Linked DNA regions of Homo sapiens: region 2 is linked to region 1. The links are contacts of gene promoters, found by promoter capture Hi-C in blood cells and fetal thymus (Javierre and others, 2016). All regions are on one chromosome and are shown on one strand. Each heading gives the region's core, a stretch centred on a gene start or on the middle of the fragment in contact. The rest is flanking DNA. Distances are from core to core; before and after follow the strand shown.

Region 1 (4,519 bases), core at 1,919-4,418:
ACAATGAAAAATACAATGATCAAAAGAACTAGAATACTCTAGGTGGCAGATCACTTAATTCTGTCCCTATCGCCAAGACACTTGCTGGGTGAACATAGAGGAAAGCATGTTGATCTTAAGAAGTATTTCTTAGCTGAGGCAGTCTGAGATATTCCCATCCACTACAGAGATGACACGGGCAAGGAAATCCTAATGCTCAGTGTGGCTTAATTGAGATGAGGCTTAGAGGGGCAATGGTAGTGCTAGCCTTTGTGACTGCCTTGTTTTGGGCTGCCATGGCTGAGCAAGCCCTTTTGTTCACAGAATCTCTCTCCAAACAGGGTACAGAATGGCTGACGAGATTGATTAGGTTCCATTTATTAAATTACAATATCTACCTTCTTCAGGTTCCTCCCATATGCCCTTTATCAGAGTTTGTTTTGTTTTGTTTGGTCATGTTTGTAAAAAAGGTCTTGGCTTACCCCCATGGATAGCTAATTTCATGGTTGTATTAGTCTGCTTAGCTAGCATGTTATGCTGCAGTAACAACGAAAACAATCTCAGTGGCTTACAACAAAGGTTTATTTATTGTTCACACAACATTACAGGTTATGTGTGTCAGCTGTCGCTCTGCACATCTTCATTCTGGGACCAAAGCTGAAGAGGGAGCTCTATTTAGGACATGCTGCTCTTGTGTCAGAGGAAAGATAATATGGCAAAATTGTAAGATAGCTCATAAATTTCTGCTCAGAAGTGGTTCATGCCATTTCTTTCTTTCTTTTTTTGAGACAGAGTCTCACTCTGTCGCCCAGGCTGGAGTGCAGTGGCGTGATATTTGCTCACTGCAACCTCCAACTCCCTGGTTAAAGCAATTCTCCTGCCTCAGCCTCCCGAGTAGCTGGGATTGCAGGTGCCTGCCACCACACCTGGCTAATTTTTTTATTTTTAGTAGAGACAGGGCTTCACCATCTTGGCCAGGCTGGTCTTGAACTCCTGACCTCGTCATCCACCCACCTCGGCCTCCCAAAGTGCTGGGATTACAGGTGTGAGCCACCGTGCCCGGCCGGTTCATGCCATTTCTACTCATATTTCATTGGTCAAAACAAGGCCAAGCTTGACGACATTAGGGTGAGAAGTCTTTCACCCTAATCTCCTAGGGACAGGCCAGATAGCAACGGCTTTAGAAAGGGAAGGGCGGAGGCTATTGATAATAAAGACTATAGCAAGGACTAATATTAGGCTTATATGTATCAATTGACTGTTATCAGTTATAACATTGACTATTAAAATACTGAAATACTCTAGTACTACCTGGTAAATAGCTGCTGTCCCAAACCTCCTGACCACTCCCTTCCCCTGGGATCCCTTGGGACCTCCTATTCACAAACCAGCAACTGAAGGGTTAACACCTAGCACAGACGTATACCTCCAGGATCCTAGCTGCATTTCTAATTCTGCTTCATCTATGCTTGAGCACTACTTGTTGTTAAATATACTTAATATCACTCTTAGCTAATTTCCTCTATGTAGATTTTTATTTATTTCTGAGGGCAACCCAACTTCCAGGCTCTTGGAAGGAAATAGACTGCAGCCCCTAAGTGTGATCAATACTTAATTATAACAATAATCACTAATAATAACTTGTGCTGCTTCATTGTAACTAAATGTACACTTTTACATTTTTTGGCAAGCATAGTATATGCAATAAGTACTCAATAAACATCTGTAGAGAGACTTATTTAGCTTTTTTCCATTAGCTACATCTGTCTCTACAATCTCAACATACTATTCTCTTGAATCTGTTTTTAATTTTATGCCATTTCTCATGTCTGAAAATGTCATTATAAGTAACTTTTTTTTTTTCTGAGACAGGGCCTCGCACTGTCGCCCATGCTAGAGTGCAGCGAGACACTCGTAGCTCTTACCAGTAACTTCTTTATAACACTTTTGCAATTTACGAAGCACTCTCACATTATTTCATTCACTCTCCCCAACATTACCAAAAGTTAGGAATTAGATCTTTTTACAGATGAAGGAATTGAGACTCCCTGAAGTCAAGTGTCTTATAGTTAGGTTTTGTTCATTCATTCATCAAATAGAGTGCCTGATGTGAGATTTATTGAAACTGGATTTGAAAACAATTTTCCTGAATTCAAGTCGAGGGTTTACTCCACTATTCTCAATTACTTTATCACCAGGGTTATAAACCCAAAGGAAGTGAGTAACAACAGTGTGATTTTATTGAGGACCCATGCAACACTAGTCTCAGAAAGGCTCCAGTGTCATTTGTAAAATTCAAGGTTACCATCAGCAGAGGCAGTCATTCCTCTCTGCGCTTGTTACCTAATGCACTAACTCTCACTGTAGGTAATTCCATTCAAGACACATTTGATGACTATACCTACAGGTTTTGAAGTTATTCGGATGGGGTTTTGACACTTACTAGCTGTGGGGACTTAGATCAAGTTACTTAACCTTTTTGAGCTTCAGTTTTATCATTTGTAAAATGGATACAATCCTGATGCCTTTGGACCAAGTGGTCACGGAAATGAAAGAGATAAGTATGAAAAAATCCATGCTCATAGTAGCTGTGGTTTCCAACTGCGTGATAAAACTTTAAAATCTGCATTCAAATAAGAACAACTATGTCGACGTAAGGTTACAAGCTAACTATTCTTGGTAAGTACTGTTCTTTATTCTAGAGGACATCACTTTACAGTTTGGTGCTAAATGCTCTTTTATGAATTTAAGGTGCCAGTAGCTGTCTACTTGAACGGCATGCTTAATCTGGAACGCCATGTCGACCTTCATCCCCCAGTTCTTTCTCCCCAAATTAAAAACACAAATACACACACACGCCCCTACTTAGTTCCTAAAACTCAAGGGCACGCGCACACACCTACTTATTTCCTAAAATTCAAGCTCGCACCAAGGAGATCCACAAGGATAGGCAGGGTGGTGGAGGTCACTGGGCAGCGCCTCCGGATCCCCCGAAAGGGGGCGGGGTCAAAACTCAGATCTCGAGCTCCCGAAAGGGGGCGGGGTTAAAACTCTCAGATCTCATTCCGCCTCCCTCTGTCGTCGCCCCTTCCCAATTCTCGCGAGACCTCAAGGAGCACAGCTTCTGCGCACCGCACGATACTGGGAGTCCAGGCGCCAAGGGAGGGGGAAGGGAAAAGGGGAAACGGTGCAAACGGCGTGGCCGCCATCTTGCTTGTGCCCCCGCTTCGCGCGCGCTCCGTTCTCCGTGACGCACACTTCCCCCTCCCCTCCGCCGCGCCTGGGCCTCTGCATTGCCCGACTCCGTAGGAGCGCGGGGGCGGCTCCTGCTCTTCCTGGACTCCTGAGCAGAGGTGTGTGAGTGTGCGGGAGTTTCTGTGCGAGGGTGATAGGGAAGCGGCGGCGGGGGGAGGGGCAGCGCTTCCCGCCTTCGCCAGAGACCTCACTTCCTCGCGCGGCCGCTGCTGTAGCTCGGTCCGTCCTGCCCGCCGCCATGTTGTGCTCTTGCCTGGCCCGCTGCTGTCGCCGCCGCCGCGCTCGTGGGGTCCGTGTGCCTCGTCGGCCCGGCCCGCGGGCTTTCTCCCATTGGCGGAAGGCGACGGCGGGGGGGCTCGCTCGTGATTGGTCGGTGGCGGGGAGGCCGCGGACCTGGCACCTTATTGGACGCGCCAGCTCCGGTCTAGGGGGTGATGAAGGAATCTGAGGCTGCGGGGATGCGCGCGTCTTGGGCTAGGGCGGCTGGGGCAATGACCCCCTGCGGCGCAGGCGTGGGGTTGCGGCGAGAGGGCGAGCCTAGAGGCTTTAAGGGGGAAGAGAGGGTGATGGCCTGGCAGGTACTTTGGGGGTAGCTTAGGCCATGGCCTGGGAATGGGGGACACTCACTTTCAGAGGTGCTTTTCCTGGTACATGCATGGCCCAAGATTGGGGTGTGCAGGCCCTCAGGGTTCCAGGCTTGGAAACACCGAAACCCAAGTGACAGGCTGAGAGTCTTCGAGATCCAGGGTTGCTAATGTGACCCAGTTTGGAAGTGGCCCTGAAGTCCACGGTGTGAGTGTATGGTGTAGGAAGAAAGGCATCAGGGCTAGGGGCATAGCTGAACGGTAGAATCGGATCAGGGATTTTGCTGGAGAGTGCAAGCATTCAAACACTGAGGTTTTGGTGGAGCCCTGGAGTCCAGAGTCAACGGACCTGGGATGTGATGTGAGGAGCAAGTAAACCGAGAGAGGAATGCTATTGAGAAGTGTGCTCTGTCCGAGCCTAGGAAGCACAGCATTAAGTAGTATCAGATTTAAAGTGACAAAATCTGATATAGGAAGCATTTTAGGGGACATTTTCGGACTTGGGAAGTGTATTAATAGAACAGTTATACATTATTGAGTCTCAGGACCATACAAGTAGTTTTGAGATGTTGTATATGAAATTTGCTGCTCTAGGAAGGATACAGGTCATGGCTGAGTTTCCAAAGCCACATTAGCAAATATTAGGTAGTTGGTAGTTATTTGTTGAGTAAATATTGTTAGGTTCCCCTTTAAGGGAAAGG
Region 2 (4,673 bases), core at 981-3,480, 150 kb after region 1:
TTCATGTTGTTGAACCTGTAAATAGTCTCCATTCTGGCCACCATGACCACATTGTACATAAACATATGGAGAATGCGCTGGAGAGACTAGGGAGAGAGGCTGGCTGACATCCATCCAATGTGCCATCTTGTCCATCGAATTATCAAGAGCTGCCTCTGCCATGGATGACTTTGGGTGAGATTTTACTTGGAATACAAATATCTTCATATTCTGTGTCATTTCTGAAAGTCCATCTACTAGTCTCTCCCAGTTTTTCTTATGGCCAGTCCTCCAGTTCTGTGCTTTCTGAACCCCTGACCATCCAGCCAAACCATTAGCCACTGCCCATAAATCAGTGTAGATCCATACTTCTTGTCATCTCTCAATCAGACAAAATGGACAACCAAATGTACTGAAGGACAGGTAGGATGGAGCCAGGCCTGGGAACTGGGGTGGTGGCAGTGGTGGTGATGTTCCAGGAAAAGGCACAGTATGTGATAGGGTCCAGAGGCACCAGTGAGTGTGGTAGATGAAAGGAACAGAAAGAAATCCCGTGGCTGGTCCCAGACAGCAACGGAGAGAGGGGTGCAAGATGGGACTTTAGAATTAGGGGTCAAAGTTTACAGGATTTCATTAATCATTCCAAAGAGATAGGACTTAGCCATGATAGCAGTGGGGAGACAATAAAAGATTTTTCTCAGGCAGCACACTGGGGTAGATTTGCATTTTAGAATTTTTTTTTTTTCCTGGGATGGAAGATGTATTTGAGGGAGTAAGTGTGGGTGTGGGGAGAGCAGGTAGGAGACTGCTGCAGTCACCCGAGCAGGAGGTGCTGGTAACCCGAACAAGTCCCATGACATTTCACTAATTGAGTTAAATGTCTATTGAGCACCCGCTATATGCCAGACCCTGCCTCAGCACAATATACAGGATGAACAGACACGGGAGAACAAGTTACAGCCCTGAGGTCATCCAGCCCCTGGGGGAGACAGATGCACAATTAACCAATGCACAGCTACTGTTTATCTTCTAAATTTGCCTGGCTCAGCAAGGAGAGTTTGCAGGTGGCTCTGGGAGTCCCCAAACTGTCATCAAATACGGCCTTGACAGCAGATACAATTTTAGCTTGGTGTGTCATTTATCTATTGCTTTGTAACAACTTATTTTAAAACTTAATGGTTTAGGACAGATGTGGTGGCTCATGCCTGTAATCCCAGCACTTTGGGAGGCCGAGGTGGGTGGATCACTTGAGGCCAGGAGTTCAAGACCAGCCTGGCCAACATGATGAGACCCCCATCTCCTAAAAATTACAAAAATTAGCCTGGTATGGTGGCGTGCGCCTGTAGTCCCAGTCACTCAGGAGGCTGAGGCAGAGAATTGCTTGTACCCGGGAGGTGGAGGTTGCAGTGAGCCAAGATCATGCCACTGCACTCCAGCCTGGGCAACAGAGCAAGATTCTGTCTCCAAAACAAACAAACAAACAAACAAAAAACCACCAACAAAAAACCTTAATGGCTTAAAATAACAACTATTTTATTTTATTTACTCTTGATTCTGTGGGTCAGCAATTTGGGGTGAACTCAGCTGAACAGCTCTGCTGGTCTCACCTGGGGTCACTAATGTGCTTGCAATCATCTGGCATCAACAGGGTCTAGATGGCCCAAGAGGGCCTTCCCCACGTGTCTGCAATCTGGTGTGAGTTGGTCTGCAGGCAAGACGGCTCATCTCTGTTCTATGGAGCTTCTCATCCTCCAGTAGATTAGACTGTACTTCTTCATATGGCAAGAGGGCAAAAGCAGAAGCCATCAGGCCTCTGGAGGCCCAGGCTCAGAAGCTGTACCAAGGGGCTCAGCTCACTTTGATGGGTGCTCTGAATACGTTGCGATGTTTACACTCTTGTAGATCTAAAAAAACCCATGCAGTTATTTCTCTATTTAGATAATTTATTTCATGTACTTTTGTTTTTTTGAGAGTGCAGAGTGCAGTGGCCACTGCACTGGGCCATATTTCACGTACTTTTGACAGCTCCAATTGTTAAAACAGTTTCGTTTTCCCTCTGAGAAGCTGAGAGGCACATCTTCCCCTACCACCCACCTCTGTGTATAGCAGGACCGTGATAGCTGCTACCACGGTGTGTTGGTCTGTGTGGGATGGCATAGCAAATATCATGGACTGGAAGGTCTAAACAACAGAAGTGCATGATCACACAGTCAAAGTTCTGGAGGCTGGAAATTCAAGACCAAGTTATCAGCAGGGTTGGTTTCATTCTGAGGCCTCTCTCCTATGATTGTAGAGGCTGCCTTCTTCTGGTATCTTTGCATGATTATCTCTTGTTCTCTATGTACACAGGTCTGAGGTCTCTCTCTGTGTCCTAATAATCTCCTCTTCCTCTTCCTCCTCCTCCTCCTCCTCTTCTTCTTTGTGTTCCTAGTTTTCTTTTTCTTTTCTTTTTTCAAGTTTTATTTTAGGTTTGGGGACACATGTGCTGGTTTGTTACTAAGGTATATTGCATGATGTGCATGATGCTGAGGTTTGGGATACGACAGAACCTATCACCCAGGTAGGGAGCACAGTACCCAACAGGTCATTTTTCAACCCTTGATCCCCTCCCTCCCTCTCCCTTCTTGTGGTCTGCAGTGTCAATTGTTGCCATCTTTATGTCCATGTGTAACTAATGTTTAGTTCCCATTTATAAGTGAGAACATGCAGTATTTGGCTTTCTGTTTCTGCATTAGTTTGCTTAGGATAATAACCTCCAGCTGCTCAAGTTGCTGCAAAGGACATGATTTCCTTCTTTTTATGGCTGCATAGTATTCCATGGTATATACGCACCACATTTTCTTTATCCAGTCCACCATTGATGGATACCTAGGTTGATTCCATGTCTTTGCTATTGTGAAGAGTGCTACAATGAACATACAGTTGCATGTGTTTTTTTGGTAGAATGATTTATTTTCCTTTGGGTATATATCTAGTCATGAGATTGCTGAGTGGAATGGTAGTTTTATATTTAGTTCTCTGAGAACTCTCCAAATTGCTTAACTAATTTACATTCTCACCAAGAATGTATAATCATTCCCTTTCCTCTGTAACCCCGCCAACATCTGTTATTTTTTGACTTTTTAATAATAGCCATTCTGACTAGTGTGAGATGATATCTCATTGTAGTTTACGTTTGCATTTCTCTGATGATTAGTGATGATTGATGCTGAACATTTTTTCATGTTTTTTGGCCACTTGTATATCTTCTTTTGAGAATTGTCTGTTCCTATCCTTTGCTCACTTTTTAATGGGGTTGGTTTTTGCTTGTTGATGTATTTATCGCCTCTTCTTATAAGGATACCAGTAATATTGGATTAGAGCTCACCCTAAAAAACCCATTTTAACTTGATTACCTCTTTAAAGGCCCTATCTCCAAATGCAGTCACATTTTGAGGAACTGAGGGTTAGAACTTCAGCATATGAATTTTGGAGGGATGCAATTCAGCCAATGACACCTGCAACAGGGATTTCACCCACCAACCTGACGCATTTTCTGCTGTAAATGCACAGGATCTGAGAATCACTCGGGTTTGCCCCATCCCAACTGGCAGAGCTGAACAGAGCTATAGACATCATGGAACCAAGTGATTTGAAAACCCTTTTTTGAAGGCCCAGGAACCTTTGCTACAGCATAACCTATTTGGAATCCTAATATACAAAATATAATCAGTGCAATAAAAAATGGGAACCTCCCAGAGGTGGCCTCAATTCTCCCCTTACATACACATTGAGCATGTGCCTAGCATTTTGCTGCAGGCAAAATAGATCTGTCTCTGTGATGTATCCTTTATGTAACTATTGTAGTCGATTGTATTCTTTGTCTGAAAGTCTTCCTTCCTTCCTTGCCATTGCCATGGTTACCCTTGCATGGTGTGTACTTGCCTATCTGTCTTACAGCAGGTTTCCTGGAAACCAATTCCGAGACAGAGAGTGGTGTGCAGAAGGTTTTTAGGGGAGTGTGCTCAGGAGATTCATCTATAAGGAAGGTAGGAGGTAGGATTAGACAGAAGGAGAGGTTGATCTACTATGCGATAGCAACTGAGGTAGCTGCTGATCCTCAGGAGCCCTAGAGCTCATCTATCCCCGAAGAGTTGTGCTAAACTGAAGGAAGAAGGCAGGCCTTTGTTTTCCTTCAAAGGAAACCATCAGCCAATCATTAGCCAATCATGGCCATGACTGTGGGTGAGGCAGTTCCCTGTGGCCAAGGGCAATTCCCAATGAGTGACACAGTTGTGAGCCAGCAGAAGATTCCCAGCAGGCTCTGAAGGGTGGATCTGGGTGGAACCCCATAGCATCCACTCTACCAACCCCCTGACTTTGGGCTTGGCCATGGGATTTATTTTGGCCAATCGAAGGCAGGTAGGAAGGACAGTATGCTTTTTTTCAAGCGGAAGCCATACAGTCATGGCAAAGTTCTTCCACCTCGAGAGCCTCGGATAGCCGTTGTTTCTTCATCCTGGGTCCGGATGCAGGCATGTGGAGCAGACCTGACCTAGACTGAATTCAAGAGTCCAGCCTGGCCCAGCCAGCATCAGCTGAACTGCAGTTGACTTGGAGACTTAGGAGTGTGAAATAATCATTGATTTTGTAGGACACTGAGATTGGGGGTTTGTTTTCTTCATGGCATTATCACGGCAAGACCTGGTTAAGAC

The links. Contacts are between HindIII fragments. The CHiCAGO score rates a contact against its expected background, and 5 or more counts as called.
Region 2: a fragment that was not itself captured here is called in contact with the fragment with the promoter of NFYC in region 1 in 5 of 17 cell types (megakaryocytes, fetal thymus, naive CD4 T cells and 2 more); the score reaches 8.6 in megakaryocytes.

Annotation. Positions count from the first base shown.
Region 1 is chr1:40,688,536-40,693,054 of GRCh38, forward strand. NFYC (nuclear transcription factor Y subunit gamma) reads left to right here and starts at 3,169. Exons shown (of 10, transcript NM_014223.5): 1 at 3,169-3,332. It overlaps NFYC-AS1 (NFYC antisense RNA 1), which reads right to left and starts at 3,726. Exons shown (of 1, transcript NR_024567.1): 1 at 545-3,726. It also overlaps a transcript of RIMS3 not described here. RefSeq lists a silencer at 3,577-3,676 and enhancers at 3,917-4,086, 4,107-4,156. The HindIII fragment of the contact is 4,450 bases long and covers 1,091-4,519 here.
Region 2 is chr1:40,843,315-40,847,987 of GRCh38, forward strand. No RefSeq gene overlaps it. Among named protein-coding and RNA genes, the nearest start is that of CITED4, 17 kb to the right of the region's middle. The HindIII fragment of the contact is 9,100 bases long and covers 1-4,673 here.